2 separate regions of the Homo sapiens genome follow, and region 1 is linked to region 2. The links are contacts of gene promoters, found by promoter capture Hi-C in blood cells and fetal thymus (Javierre and others, 2016). All regions are on one chromosome and are shown on one strand. Each heading gives the region's core, a stretch centred on a gene start or on the middle of the fragment in contact. The rest is flanking DNA. Distances are from core to core; before and after follow the strand shown. Region 1 has its middle 7.3 kb from the start of SLC9A4. Region 2 holds the start of IL1R1-AS1 (IL1R1 antisense RNA 1).

Region 1 (7,029 bases), core at 3,831-6,330, 280 kb before region 2:
GCATTTAGACAATGAAAAGAAACAAAAGGCATTCAGATTGGAAGGAAAAAAAGTCAAACTATTTCCACTTGCATGATCTTTTAAATAGATTACTCTAAAATATTTAAACAGAATATCCTGAATAATTGACTAAAAAACTATTAGATATAATAAATGAGTTTAACAAGCTTGTAGGATATGAGATCAATATGCAAAAACAAATTGTGTTTTATAGTGACAATGAATAAAACAAAATGGAATTAAGAAAATAATGCCATTTATAATAGCATCAAAAAATGCAATTCTTAGGAATAAGTTTATCAAAAAAGTGTCACACTTGTATTCTAAAAAAAATTGTTTAAAGAAGATCTAAATAAATGGAAATATGATCCAAATAATAATTATCAGTTAACTTAATTTCTCAGAAAAGATCCATTCACAGGTGCACCAGAGTATCGCAGGGTGCTGTGCGCTTTCCTGTTTATACTTGTGATGGTGAAGGGAAAATATAAACAGTTTTCATTTGCAAAGCAGAGAGTTAAAAGAATCATCCTGGAATTTTAGGTCCGCAGCAAGCTATTGGATACCTGACAGTTTTGATCTAATTATTCAGATAACTATATTGGTTGTAGAAACTTGACCTTCTCTGACCTGCCTTCCTGACCCCTTTTTGGTGCCAGTCCCAAGAATCCCTGTGGTTCTTGTCATCTGTTCATAGAAACCCGCTCACACATAGAGCCCAGTGGCAGGAAAGGAATGGCCAGACATCCTCTCCCCAGTGGGTGCCTTATAATTTAGATTGCTATATCCTGTCTTCCCTCATGGGACTAATTGAGGGTGGTACACATGGCAAGAGAATCTCCCATCCATCCCCCAGGGTTTCAGCTGTGCATAGCCAGAAGAGGAGCTTAGGGAACATTCTTCTCTTTTTACCCTCAGTTTTCTAGAGGCAACTTCTGTTTTAGAGAAGCTCCAAAGGAAAAAAAAAAAAAAAAGGCAGAACTGACACCATATTTTACACATGATGAATTAGAAAGTCACCTCTCTCCAGGAATAGTTTTCAACAAAATAATCAGCACACCTCTTCTTCCTTCCCATAACGTGTGCTCATTGTTGACTTTACCAGAAAGTATTTGTGTAGCACTCTGAGACTAAAGTATCTGTTGCTTGCCCCTGAATTCTTGATACTTTGTCAGGGCTCAAATTTATATTCTTTTTTAGGAAGAAGAATGAAAAAGAGTAGTGATAGAGAATTGGTCAATGCTGTCCAGAAAGATGATTTGCCTTCCAAGACCACAGCTAGCAATTAAACTGGATGGCCTGGATCAAGTTCTGGTATATCATACCCCTAAATTGAAAGCCTACATCTTAAGCTGGAGAGAAGTCAAAAGCTATGACCCTGCTTTCAGGACAGAAAGCTGAGCTCTGTCTCTGCTCCCCAAAGTCAAACTTCCACTGCTCAGAGTGAAACAGAGGGGATGGGTAAAGGCAAAATCAAGTCCAGGAGACCCCCCCTATATGGAAGGAGAGGGTAAATACCACAGTGTAGTCTGGGTGGATGGGGTGGGCATGAATGTAAGCTTTGAAATAAGACAGATCTTCACACCAGAGTTAATGTCAGATTCTTACAGTTCTACTGTGATAGCTTCCCTAAGGGAATACAAACTTTGCAAGGGGGAAAAATTTGAAGCTATGTGAACTTGGGCAAGTCTTAAACCTCTTTCAGTCTCAGTTACTTTATCCACGATGATGATGGTGATGATGATGATGATGCCTATTCTAAAGATGTTTGAGGATTAGGTGACATGACAAATAACAGAAAGAAAAATGCTTAATACAGAATTGATACCAGATTAGTATTAGATTCATTTTATTTCAAAGTGATTATAAACTCCACATAGGTAGAAGTCTAATATCCTTCAGTATCCTATAATACTTCCTAATAAGTTACTTGTCCACAAAACATCCTAAATTTATTGGATGGTGGAAATAAGACAGACAGGTGGTTAAAAATGAAACGTGTCATTTTTCTCTATTTACCCACATTGTCACCAGTCACCACTGTTTAGACAATAAGTCACAGGGCTAGTTGAACCCAGTCTAAAATGGCTGAGCTAGCAATTGTATCTTCCCTAATCTTTCCTCTTTGTTCCAAGGGCTGATCCCCTCCCACTTCCACCCCACTCAACCCATAACCCATCACCAACAACACCTACATTAGGAACGCCTAGTAGGTCTGTTTTCCCTCTTTTCTTTCTTTCCTCAACTAAATTCCTATTCCCTTAGGGGGGACCATGACACTGGATTTCGAGGAACACTGATTCTCATTAAGGTAGGTGGATAACGTGTTCTGACATTGGGAAGAGGCTGCTTTTGTTAGCAGAAGGATTGCTGATAGATATTCAGGCAGTTTAGATAAATGGACATTGCAAACATAAGCCAATGAGATGTGGGCAATACCGTGGACCAGAGGAGACTGCAGTTTTCTCCTTTACTCAGGCTTCGAGTACGTGCATGAGTGTGGAGGAAGCCAGCTGAACTTTATTCACAATTAGTCTTCAAAGAACCAACTCATATACCAGTGACCAGTGCCACCTCCCATTTTCTATAATTCAGTGCAGGTAAATCTATTCCTCCTTCAAGGCTTCTGCCTGCTTCATATCATCTCCAGCATCACATACCCAGGTAAGCTTGGGAACTGTATTAATTTTCTCAGGCTGTCATAACAAGTTATCACAGACTGGGTGGCTTAAACAACAAAAACTTATTTTCTCATGAACAAAAACTTATTTTCTCATGATTCTGGAGGTGGGAAGTCCAAGATCAAGGTGGTAGCTGATTAGGTTTCTGGTGAGGCCTCTCTTCCTGACTTGTAGATGGTTGCCTTCTTGCTAAGTCCTCATGTGGCCTTTTTTCTGTGCAAGCTAGTGTGAGAAAGAAAGAATCTCTGGTGTTTCTTCCTGCAAGGACAATAATCATATGGGTCCAGGGTACTACCCCTGTTACCTCATTAACTTTACCTCCTAAAGACCCTATCACCAAAATCAGACACACTGGAGGTTAGGGGGTAGGGCTTCAAATGTGCATTTTAGGGGGACACAATTCAGTCCATAGAAGAAAACTTTAGGAGAGCTTTCCACTGCCTGGCTCTGGCTTCCTGTGATGAAACTAGTTGTGACCTGTAAAAGAATTTGTTCTCTTTGTTGTCTCGATTGGCAGAACCTGAGTTTTCTTCAGTACTCTATTAAAACAGAAAAGTATGCCAGTATCCCTGGTACAGGACACTTCCATAGCTAGCTTTTTACTTCTGAAATCTGTCCTTTGTTACAAGACAGAGTTTATGTCCCCTAACAATATAGTACTTATGATTATCAGCCTTTAGCAAAGGGAGGGTTTTTGTTAAAGCACTAGAGAGACTCTCCAAAGATCCATCTGTATTAAATCATTGAAATGAACTGCTTATCCCAGAATGCTCTGCTGCAGAACAGATCCTGTAGCTACCAGCTGAGTGGCCACTGAAGCAGAGGCCAGGAAGCATTTTTATACCTAACCAATCTGCCAAGGGTGCCTCAGAAGGAGAGAGCAAGATTCTAAACCTCCACATTTAGTTTCCCCCAATGCTTTAAGTTGAGGCGAAGATAAATATCTCCACCTCGGTAACATGGGCTAGCAATACCACGCTGTCCCCAGATACTTCCCTGCCAGTCTGAGCTTCCATAACTGATAAGACATCCTTCCCTTTGCTTGAATACTTCACTTCTCCATCACCTTCATGACACATAGATGAAAGCATGCTCCTGAACAAAAAAAATAAAAACAAAAACAAACAAATTCTAACATTGATAAGAAACAATTAGCGCACAGTGGGCAAAGAAGGCCTGGGAAACACATGTGTGGTTCCAGAAATTTATGAGGCTAGAAGCAGGGGGTGGGTAATAGGCTCTTGTCAACCAGTAGGCAGGACCTATCCATGGGGTATTTGCCCAGTGCTCAGATGTAAAGGAAGCTGAAAGCCTCTTGGGTCAGGTGGGAGTGGTGGCTCATGCCTGTAATCTAAGCACTTTGGGAGGCCAAAGTGAGAGGATCCCTCAAGCCCAGGAGTTTGATACCAGTGCTAGTAACATAGGAAGATTTCATCTCTACAAAAATTAATAATAATAATTTTAAAAAGCAGGGCATGGTGGTATATACCTGTAGTCCCAGCTAGTCCCAGCTCCTCTGAGAGGGGATTGGGGGAATTGCTTGAGCCCAGGAGGTTGGGGCTACAGTGAGCCATGGTTGAGCTGCTGCACTCCAACCTGGACAACAGAGTGAGACTTTGTCTTAAAAAAAAAAAAAGTCTTTTACAGTGAGGTCATGTTTTGATAATTGAACCAGCATGGGTGGGATTATGCCATTTTGTAGGCAAATGAATTTGTGCACATGGTTCTTGGTCCAAAGTCATTACTGGAACTACTCAGGTAAGAGGGTTTCTAATCAGAATCAGGATGTTTTCTGTGTGAGAAACAAAGATGGGCTTCTGAGGCATAGGACAGCAGGGGCAGGGGCAAAATTTAGGGGCCCAGACATTGGTTCTGCCTCCTCCAGACTCAAGGGTGTGGCCTAACCAGTGCTCAGTTTTGTTCAAGAACCAAGAGCACCCAGGGTTTGTAAGCCCCTCATACAAAAGTCACAGACTGTTCACAATTTTATGTGAAATAGTGATAGAAGCCCTGAGGATCAAGACTGGTAGGGTACCCAGGATGAGGCTATTTTGGCACCTTTGATAGGAATCTCACAGCATGGAGAAAGTGATGGATCTGTAGGAGATCAAATGACCAAGAACATCTTTGCAAGCTATACTGCATGTGCTCCTCCCACAGCAGCCAGCCCTATTCTACTGAGTTTAGTGTCTGTGTATGTTGTTGGATGAGGACCAGTGATGTTGGATGGGTACATGTGATTGTAATTGATCATACCAATTAAACCCACTTGCCATAAGGTACCCACACTTGCACACTCACAGTGAATCCCATTTTACTGAGAAATATGCTAAATGATGGGACTGCAGTGTATTCTGTTCCCTTTGAGAAATGTCTATATTGTACCTACCTGGCAAAAGGGAAGAGACATTTAGTTAATTTTAAGAGAGAAAATCAGAAAGACTTGGAAAAGCGTTGAAGGTGGCCTGCCGCAGTGGCTCACACCTGTAATCCCAGCCCTTTGGGAGCTGAGGCGGGTGGATCATGAGGTCAGGAGTTCGAGACCAGCCTGACCAACATGGTGAAACGCCGTCTCTACTAAAAATACAAAAATTAACTGGGCATGGTGGTACGCATCTGTAATCCCAGCTACTCCAGAGGCTGAGGCAGGAGAATCACTTGAACCCGAGAGGCAGAGGGTTGCAGCGAGCCGAGATCGCACCACTGCACTTCAGCCTGGGCGACGGAGTGAGACTCTGTCTCAAAAAAAAAAAAAAGAAAGAAAGAAAGAAAAAAAACTGTTGGTAAGAGCGCCTACTGGAATAAGTTGTCAATACCTGTTGTGCAAGTCTAGGAGTGGGGTGCGAAGGATTCTTCATTAGGATCTTCACTTGTGTGGTGGTACACAAAGAGCTCAGTTCAGTTGAGCAATGATTGCCTGAACTGCCTTGTCACAGGCACATAGTGCAGAATCAAAAGGCAAGAAGTAGGAATTATGCGGGGAAATGAGACAGAACAACATAGAGGGAAATCAGGATGCTGTCCACCAAAAGAGAACTGTTTCAGTGTGAATTTCTTAACTCTGAAAACCATGACAGTTTCAGATGAGAAAACCCTCAGAACACTCTGAGACGTTAAGAAAGAGAACAAAAAAGACTCAACTTTTTTTGTCAGTTAGGACACTTTAAACTCCGCAACAATAATAAATCATCTAGAAACTTCAGTGGCTGAACATAGGTAGTTTACTTTGTACCCACATTATAGTTTCAATGTGGATAAGGAACACCTTTATCATGTGGGCATGCCAGCTCAAGCATGTAGCCTCCAAGGTCACAATGGGCAAGACAGAGTGTGCAAAAGTTATATCTGCATTGCCTCAGTCTAGAAATCACCCTATCACATCCACTCTACTTCTAGAAAATATTAGTCACGTGTCCCAAACCAACTACAAAGAAGGCTGGGAAAAGTGGCTGTGTGTTCAGAAAAACAAAATGATTTTGGTGAACACGTAACATTTTCTCTGTCACATCGCTGCAGTTAGCTCTAGTTAAAGTACAATTGCGTACATGATCATCCATCCGTAACTGAGTGGTTGATTTGTAAATAGCTTCTTATGAGATCTGATCAGTTGAAGCAAATGCGACCTTAAAAAATGTAGTGAGGCAATGGTGGGAGAAGAGCAACGCCATTTTCTGCAGATATCTTAGTAAATTCAGCCTGTTCAATTATCCAGTTACAGATGTGGGGCTTATGAAAAACTCCTAGACGTGAAATGAACCAGAATACAAAGGTAAGAAAAGCCAGTAAGTGATATTTAACTGTGCCAAGTTCTGGTCAGAGACTTTCCTGTATATAGTTGGCTTTTTAAAGGGCACAGAAACTTACCTGGGGGTGGTACAATCAGAGGTTAAATGGGGCGTTTTTCAGTTGACCTTGAATTTTGGCAAAGGTAACAAATTTAAGGACTTAGAGTGGCAAGTGCACTCTCAGTTCAAACAGAGATGTTAGACAAAACCCCTGCAGGACTTGCTAAGGGTAGCCAAACTGGTCCAGCACTCGCATCCCCAGAGACCTATGTAAAAGACCCTACAGCCCCCCAATTAGAGAGCTCCAAGGTCACAACTCATAGATGCGAGGCTTTCTGCCAGCGGGGAAGACTGACATTTCACCCCTGCTAAAGCTGTACAGAGCTGAGTTCTCATCCCCACAGAATCTATGTAATTGGAATGTAGACAAGTAAAAAAAGTCTTGAAAGAGTTTATAATCTTTTCTTTGGGTTTCAAAAATCAGACTGGTGCCTGATCCTCGGCAGGATATCATTGACAATGGCAGATCAGCTGGAACAAATGCAGTTGGAGAGCAAGGAAAG
Region 2 (7,049 bases), core at 3,687-6,186:
AAATATGACAGGGACACGAGCCCTGTCATGCCACTTCCATGCCTAGGTATTTCCCCGCCACCGTGGGCGGGGCAGACCTGCCTTCCCCAGTGGAGCGTAGGAAGGAATGTGACATCACACTAGGAAGTGGCTTGAAAGTCTTTGAGCCTGATTTTCTGGCATCTAAGTCCTTCATCACCAGGAGTGTCTGCTTAAGTCTATTCCAAGTTGAACGTCTAAATGAATTATTCATTCCTTTCCAAATCCTATTTGAGCAGTTACTGCATGCTCTGCATTGGCCTATGTGGAATGACCCCAAAGTGGAAGCCATCCCAAATGGCTTCTAAGGAGAATTATGAATCTGCCTGAGTCGTGCTCATTAACTTCTGTAAGGCAGGAATCCCATGGTGTTCAAGTACTTCAGAGCCTGAAGACTGTTCCTGTCTAAAACTTCCCGATAAGGTGATGTCAACAGGGACCTGTTGCCCTAGCCATCAGGAGACACCCCAGAGTCATCCCACAGGGCACTGAGTTGTAGGAAAAGGTTCAAAATGTAATCTCCATTCAATAGATTACTGGTCAAGCTCTTCCCAACGGTCTTTGAAAGATCAGAGACAGTGAGACAAAAGCAACCATAGGAGCAGAGATGCAATAATTGTGCTAATAGCAAAGCTTCCTGTGATAGGCTGAAGGTCAGTGGTTTGTAGATTTCTACACTCTTAAAAAGTATTGAGGATTCCAAAGTGCTTTTGTCTATGTAGGTTATGCCTGTCAATATTACTACATTAGAAGTTAAAGGGAGAATTTTTAAACGTTTACTTTCTTATTTAAGTGACAATAAACCCATTACATGTTAACGCAAATATCATACAATTTATGAAAAATAACTCTACTTTCTAAAACAGGCTTATTGAGAAAAGCGGCATTGTTCTACATAGATGCAGATCTCTTTGATGTCTGGCTTACTAGAAGATGACTGGATTCTCATACTTGCTTCTGCAATCAGTGTCATGATATAATATGTCATATAGCTTCTGAAAAGGTCCACCATACACTAATGAGAGAATGAGAATAAAAAAGGAATATAAGGTCTTAATATTACGATGAACATAGTTTTGATTTCACAGATCTTTTTGAAGGGTCTCTCAGGGACCCATAGGGCTCCCACTCTTTGAGGACCTCTTTCTTAAGCTATAAATAGAGATTATTATTTATTTCCCCTACTATCAGCAGTAAACGAGGTTCCTCTGTATATGTATATTCTTCAGCGTTTATGTCCTCATCCAAAACAAAACAAAAGTGTTACTATTTTTATAAAAGTCATATGATTTGCATTCAGAATTATTTCTATGAGCAGTGTTGAAAGGTATTTCTAAATCTTTATGCTATCTTTTTTCATTTTCACTTTATGAATAGATGCATTTGTGTCCTATCTTATTTCTTAGCCTGAGGACTAGTATATATGCCAAGTTTAATGGGTATTGTTGCCCCAAAATGTATGAAGTTAAGACAGGCCATCCCAGTCCCCTGCAGTGCCTCTCACTGGACACTTCTGACATTGCACTTTGCTACTAATTCTGAGAATCTGAAATTTAACTTCCTGGGATGGTCTCTATGCCAAATGTGTTTCCTGATACGTGGAAAATGAACACTTGGCTTTGAAGGCAGAACTGATTCCGGGTATTGTAAACTTAGCAATTAAAAATAACAGGAAACCATAATATTTACTGCAGGTTCTCAATTACCTTGAAAAAAAAAAACTTAAATGTATTCATCTCCTTCGAACATTTAAGTTTTTCCAAATTTATATTTTGCTCTTATAAACGGTGCTGCTGCAAAGATTCTGGTAATGTCCTTTTGTGCGAGTATTTCAGAGGCCATTTAGTGAACGGAATTGCAGAATCATTGGGTAGGTACATCCTCAATTGTATTAGAAAAGCCCTAATTTTTTTCCATAGCTATGTCCTTTAGAGGAAAAGAATTTCATTGCTTCATGTTCTTACCAATATTTGGTAATGTCAGACTTTTAAATTTTGCCAGTTTTGCTGCTCTGATGTAAAAGCTATCCTGTGATTTTATTTTATATACATTTAGATTGAGAGGTTATGCCCAGTTTTCAGAGGTGGCAGTTGTAAAGCCTCCATAACAGGGTGTATAATATGTAATAGATGCTTATCACCATCCCCCTACCAACCCCTCCTTGTCTAATTCTCTCCCACTTGCAGATATTTTTTCAATGGGAATATTCTTAATGTTTTCTAGCATTAGTCAGTGGCCATAGGAAATAATTTTCAGTTGGTTTTTTTTTTTATGAAGTAAATCAACTTCCTCTAGAGATTCATCACTTCATTCTGAGAGCAGGCAAAAAGCAACAAATCTGTGTGTGATGAAAGCATTACAGAATTCTGCTTGGTTGAATTTTACCTTCAGTCTATTTGACCCTCAGACTAGGATATGACGGCTATTCAGAAGGGTAGGAGGGCAACAATTTGGATTAAAGATTTCATATACAAATTTATATTTTACATGATGCATACTACCTTTTATTTGTTCTAACTAAATATCTGATTATTTCCCATTGGCCATATCCCACAGATAATGTTTCCCAATGAGAATGAAACAGAAATATATTCACACGCAACAATTAAACTTTCCAAAACCCAGTATTAGGCTGGGGTGGGTGTTTGGGGCTCCACCAAGATCTTTATACCTTTAAGGCCCTTAAGTTCTCATATTTCCCCTCTATGAGGCTTGGGAATATATAGCAGCATTTCTGTAGCAGACTGCTATTGTTGGGATGAAATGGACTTCTAGAAATGGAAGAAGCAGCCAGGGAGACTGGAAGGAGGTCCTTAAAGCACTTGGTTTCCTGCAGTCCTGGGCTTAATCACTCACTCCCTCGAGCTCCATTCATTAGTTCGCTCAGTCCCTCATCAAATATTTATACAGTTCCCACTGTGTTCCAGGTGATATTCTGAGTGCCAGAAATACAGCTGTACAGAAGACAGACCCTCTTAGAGTTTACAGTCATTCTAGTGTCAAGTAAATAAGAAAATTTTGAAGGATGATTTCAGGCTGGTGAGAACCCTGAAAGCAATTATGATGAAGTGATGGAGAGGGTGTTGGGGAAGTCCTCCCTTCAGAAGGGACTATGGTGCAGCAGAGGCCCTTGTCAAGGCAAGGAGTCCAGCATGTGGAGGTCTGCGAGAAGGGCTTTCCCCAAAGTAGGAAACAGCTAGTGCAAAATCACAAAGGAGGAAACAGTTTGTAAATTCCAAAATAAAATAACACAGACGAAGCCAATAGCCTCAGCTGCCTCAGCCTCCTTAGTAGCTGGGATTACAGGCGTGCACCACCACGCCCAGGTAATTTTTGTTTTTTGCTTTTTGTGTGTTTTTGGTAGAGATGGGGTTTCATTTCACCATGTTGACCAGGCTGGTCTCAAACTCCTGGCTTCAAGTGATCCACCCGCCTCCAATTGTAATTGTTAAGTGAAACATTCAACCATGTTAATAGTTAACTGGCAAAGGATAACCTTTTTTTGTCTATCAAATTAGCAATGATTTAATAATGAGTATTCTCAGTGCCACACACTGCTTGTGTAAGAGGAGCAAATGTCTCTATGGAACATCAAGAACCTGAAAAGGAATCTTGCCCTCTGAATATATGCTAAGCAAATGATTAGGGAAGTAAAAATATTTGAGAAAGGATAACTATTGCACTTTGACTACTGATAGCTAAAACTAGAAATAATCTGGATGTCCACTGAAGGCAGCAAAGCTATCAGATTATGGACCATCCATTTGATAGACTTAGTGACTACTTATAGATTGTATTTCGTATAATAGTAATGTGGGCAAATATTTATGCTAAGTTTTAAAAAGAGTGTTAAACTCCATGTATTATATGGTCTCAGTTATATCCATAGAAATGTTATAAAATATCAATAATTATCTTTAGGTTGTGAAGTTATGGGTGACATTTTTCTTCCTTATATGTTTTAGAAATTTCCACATTCTCTCAAACCATTATTGCTTTCGTAATAAAAAGAAGTTTCTCCTAATTTATTTTATAAAATGTCTTAAATATAATTGACTCCCAAGGGGATTACTCTACCACCTTCCTAACAACCTCCCTATGTAACCTTTTACCTCCTCCCAATCTGCTGTACAATAGTGCCCTATCAATGTGTTTCTTTATGTCGAAAGTTCTTCCAACCTGTTGCCTCCAATATCTCCCATATACCTACTCCTAGTGGTAAAGTCCAAATAGTTCAGTCATGGGTTTAAGACCCTCTGTCATATGAGATTGTTTCCTGAACAACTTTCTCTTCACACTCTTCTTCTCTGGCTAGATTTCTGTTTTTTCTTACCTTGTAATTTTCTCAGTGTCTAGCATAATGTTAACCACTTGGTTAGCACTTTTTAAAAATCTAAAAGTACGCTTGAGAACACAAATATTTCCCCTGTGTTTTTGAATTTGAGAGAGGACATGGGTCCAGTTTTAGGAAAGACAAGAATTCAGAAGCAATCAAGTACAGTGTGGAAGGCAGGACTACGGAATAGCATCTGACGACAAAAACTGTTGAAACAGATGGCTGCTGTCTACAGCCTTGAAAGCAAATGAGAAGCTGCAGTCTGTCCCTGGCTAAGCAGGGTAAGTGACGTAACATGGCTGTGGAGGGAAAATGTAGTGTTAGCCAGGGAAGGATTAACTACATGAACCAAAGCAGGAGTGGGTCCCCACACAGGCTGTGAAACATGCAATACCGTTTCACTAAAGAAGCCTAAGGAATCTCATCCTCAGGATGTGTAGATTGACAGGAAAACCAATGAACACTGTAGAATGGTATCATTGTAGCCTTCCCAGACCCGGAAGCAGAAGCCAAATGGCACTTGGGATCACTTCCAGGTCAAAGGTTCTAAGAAAAACAAGCTTCATCAACTTCACCCTGTAGGTAAATTAATCTCTCAACTGGTTGAACACAGCTTTAGAGATGTCAACAGCCTCCTATGAGTCTAGAGTCAGGTGGTACAGGCTCAACTGGTCTAACAGCTGCAAATTTTGAGAGACTGCTGTGCTAATGTTTGGGGCTCAGATTTAAGGTATAGGTATGATTTACGTACTTTGAGCAGCCAAGCCTTCTTCAGAAGAAACCTGAGCGGCATGTGGTAAGATGAGCATGTTTTTGTTTTGAATGATTAATACTCATTTTAAATAGTACCACCTATTCCTGTAACTCTTCCTCTCCTTAAAATTTAAACACCCCGCCCCCCCCCACACACACACACACAATCTTTGGTTGTAAAATGAATGTTATCACATCAAAAAATTATCCCTTTCCTCTGTCTTCCCACATACATTTTTTCATGTGTACTCCATTTTATGAATTATTGCCATGATGGTGATTCATTCATGTATTTTATTTTAGTAACAGAGGAACAATTTTTCCCTTCCAGCCCAATCCACATTCTTCCCCACCTGCTACGCTCCCTATGCCCTGCACGCTAAGCCAACCTCACCACACTCCCAGAGCCTCACGTCAAAGGCGAAAAGATTTTCTTTTGACAAATAAGCTGGAGGAAATCTCTGATTTTATAATTGCATGGTATTTATACTTAGAAGTCCTTCAATTACTACTTGGGGAACGTACTATATTAAAAATGCTAAACCAGATCCTGACTTGCTAAAATGGGATTAAGTAGCAGCTGTGATCATTTTAAAAAGTTAACACCAGCATTATATCACTCTCCAACCCCCGCACACACCTAAAACCCTAGAATTTGAAAAATATACATTTTGGATGAGTAAGTTTTTTGTTTTATCTGTACTCATCAAGTGATAAAACTAAGAAAATATATTTTGAGATTCTATCCCGTATACTGGACAGAGACTTCCTACATATAAACATCTTGTAACATAGGAAGTCCTGTTTTACACATGAGAAAATGGGGGTTCCATACAACCAGGTGCTTTGTTGTGGTTTCAAAGCTGTGACAGTGCAGGAATTTAGTTCCAGGTCTTTTTCCACCAGACGGCATTCCTGTTGTAAAATAATTCCAGAGACTCCCTAAAAACCTATTTTGCATTTACTGGGGAAAATTTATCTGATAAAGAGAGGAAAACGTGTGAGTTTTAAATGGTGGTTAGCACTGATTTTCCTAATGGTTTTCACATTAACTGGTATCATAACCAAAATGTGGTGCAAAGCTCCCTGAACTCTTCCAGTGAGAAACATTCTTTCAGGTTGGGGGCCAGTGGAGGGGCTGTGGGCTGGACAGGGCTCCTGGCCTCTGTGGTTATACAACTTCAGTTTGACATTGTGTACTTTGTCCTTAGTGTCAATTGTCATTTCTAATTTATAAGTCCTCTCTACCCCTTCCATTTGCAGATTCTAATAGGGCTTCAGATAAGCAATTCATAGAATTGCTACTAACAAAGCAACCATTTTCTGAGAACCTGCTTTATGCTAAGCACTAGGCTTGTCATAATATATTTAATCTTTTTAATCTTAACTCTATGAGTTAGATATTATACCTATATAATGAGTAAATTGAGGCTCAAATACTTTGCCTAAGGTTTCACTCCAGGTAGCTGGTGGAGGCAGTGCTCATACTGGACTCAGACTCTAAGCCAACCTGCCACCTGCCCCTTCTCCCCAGGTACTGAGAGAGTCACCTGCCCCTTAGCATTGCTGTGAGGTAAGAAGGAGGCACTGACTGGGTGTCATCTCTGACCATCAGAGTTAACAAGCTTTAGAGCATGCATTTTGGACAGCAAGTTCACCAATTTTGCCCACCTTCTGGGTCAAAGGAAAAAATAAAAGCGCTTTGTAAAATGTAAAAGTCTATACAAATATTCCCTTTATCATTTTTTGGACAGGTAAAGTGATAAGTTAATAGTAAATTGATAAGAAGTTAATAAACAGTTATTGACAAGGCTCACATTTTAATCCATTTTAGAAGCAAATGAGCAGAGGGAGTAGAGTTTAGCTAGAAGATGGGAGTTAGGGCTCACTGTTAAGCCAATAGCCTCTGACCTCCACTCCCCTCCCCTCCTCCAGCTCCTCC

What was found. Contacts are between HindIII fragments. The CHiCAGO score rates a contact against its expected background, and 5 or more counts as called.
Region 1: a contact is called between a fragment that was not itself captured here and the fragment with the promoter of IL1R1-AS1 in region 2, in 2 of 17 cell types (activated CD4 T cells and total CD4 T cells). The highest score is 7.2, in activated CD4 T cells.

Annotation. Positions count from the first base shown.
Region 1 is chr2:102,462,420-102,469,448 of GRCh38, reverse strand. No RefSeq gene overlaps it. Among named protein-coding and RNA genes, the nearest start is that of SLC9A4, 7.3 kb to the left of the region's middle. The HindIII fragment of the contact is 4,818 bases long and covers 2,672-7,029 here.
Region 2 is chr2:102,179,995-102,187,043 of GRCh38, reverse strand. It overlaps IL1R1-AS1 (IL1R1 antisense RNA 1), which reads left to right and starts at 4,936. Exons shown (of 3, transcript NR_174960.1): 1 at 4,936-5,150; 2 at 7,043-7,049. IL1RL2 (interleukin 1 receptor like 2) reads right to left here and starts at 21. Exons shown (of 12, transcript NM_003854.4): 1 at 1-21. RefSeq lists an enhancer at 1-365. The HindIII fragment of the contact is 1,818 bases long and covers 4,917-6,734 here.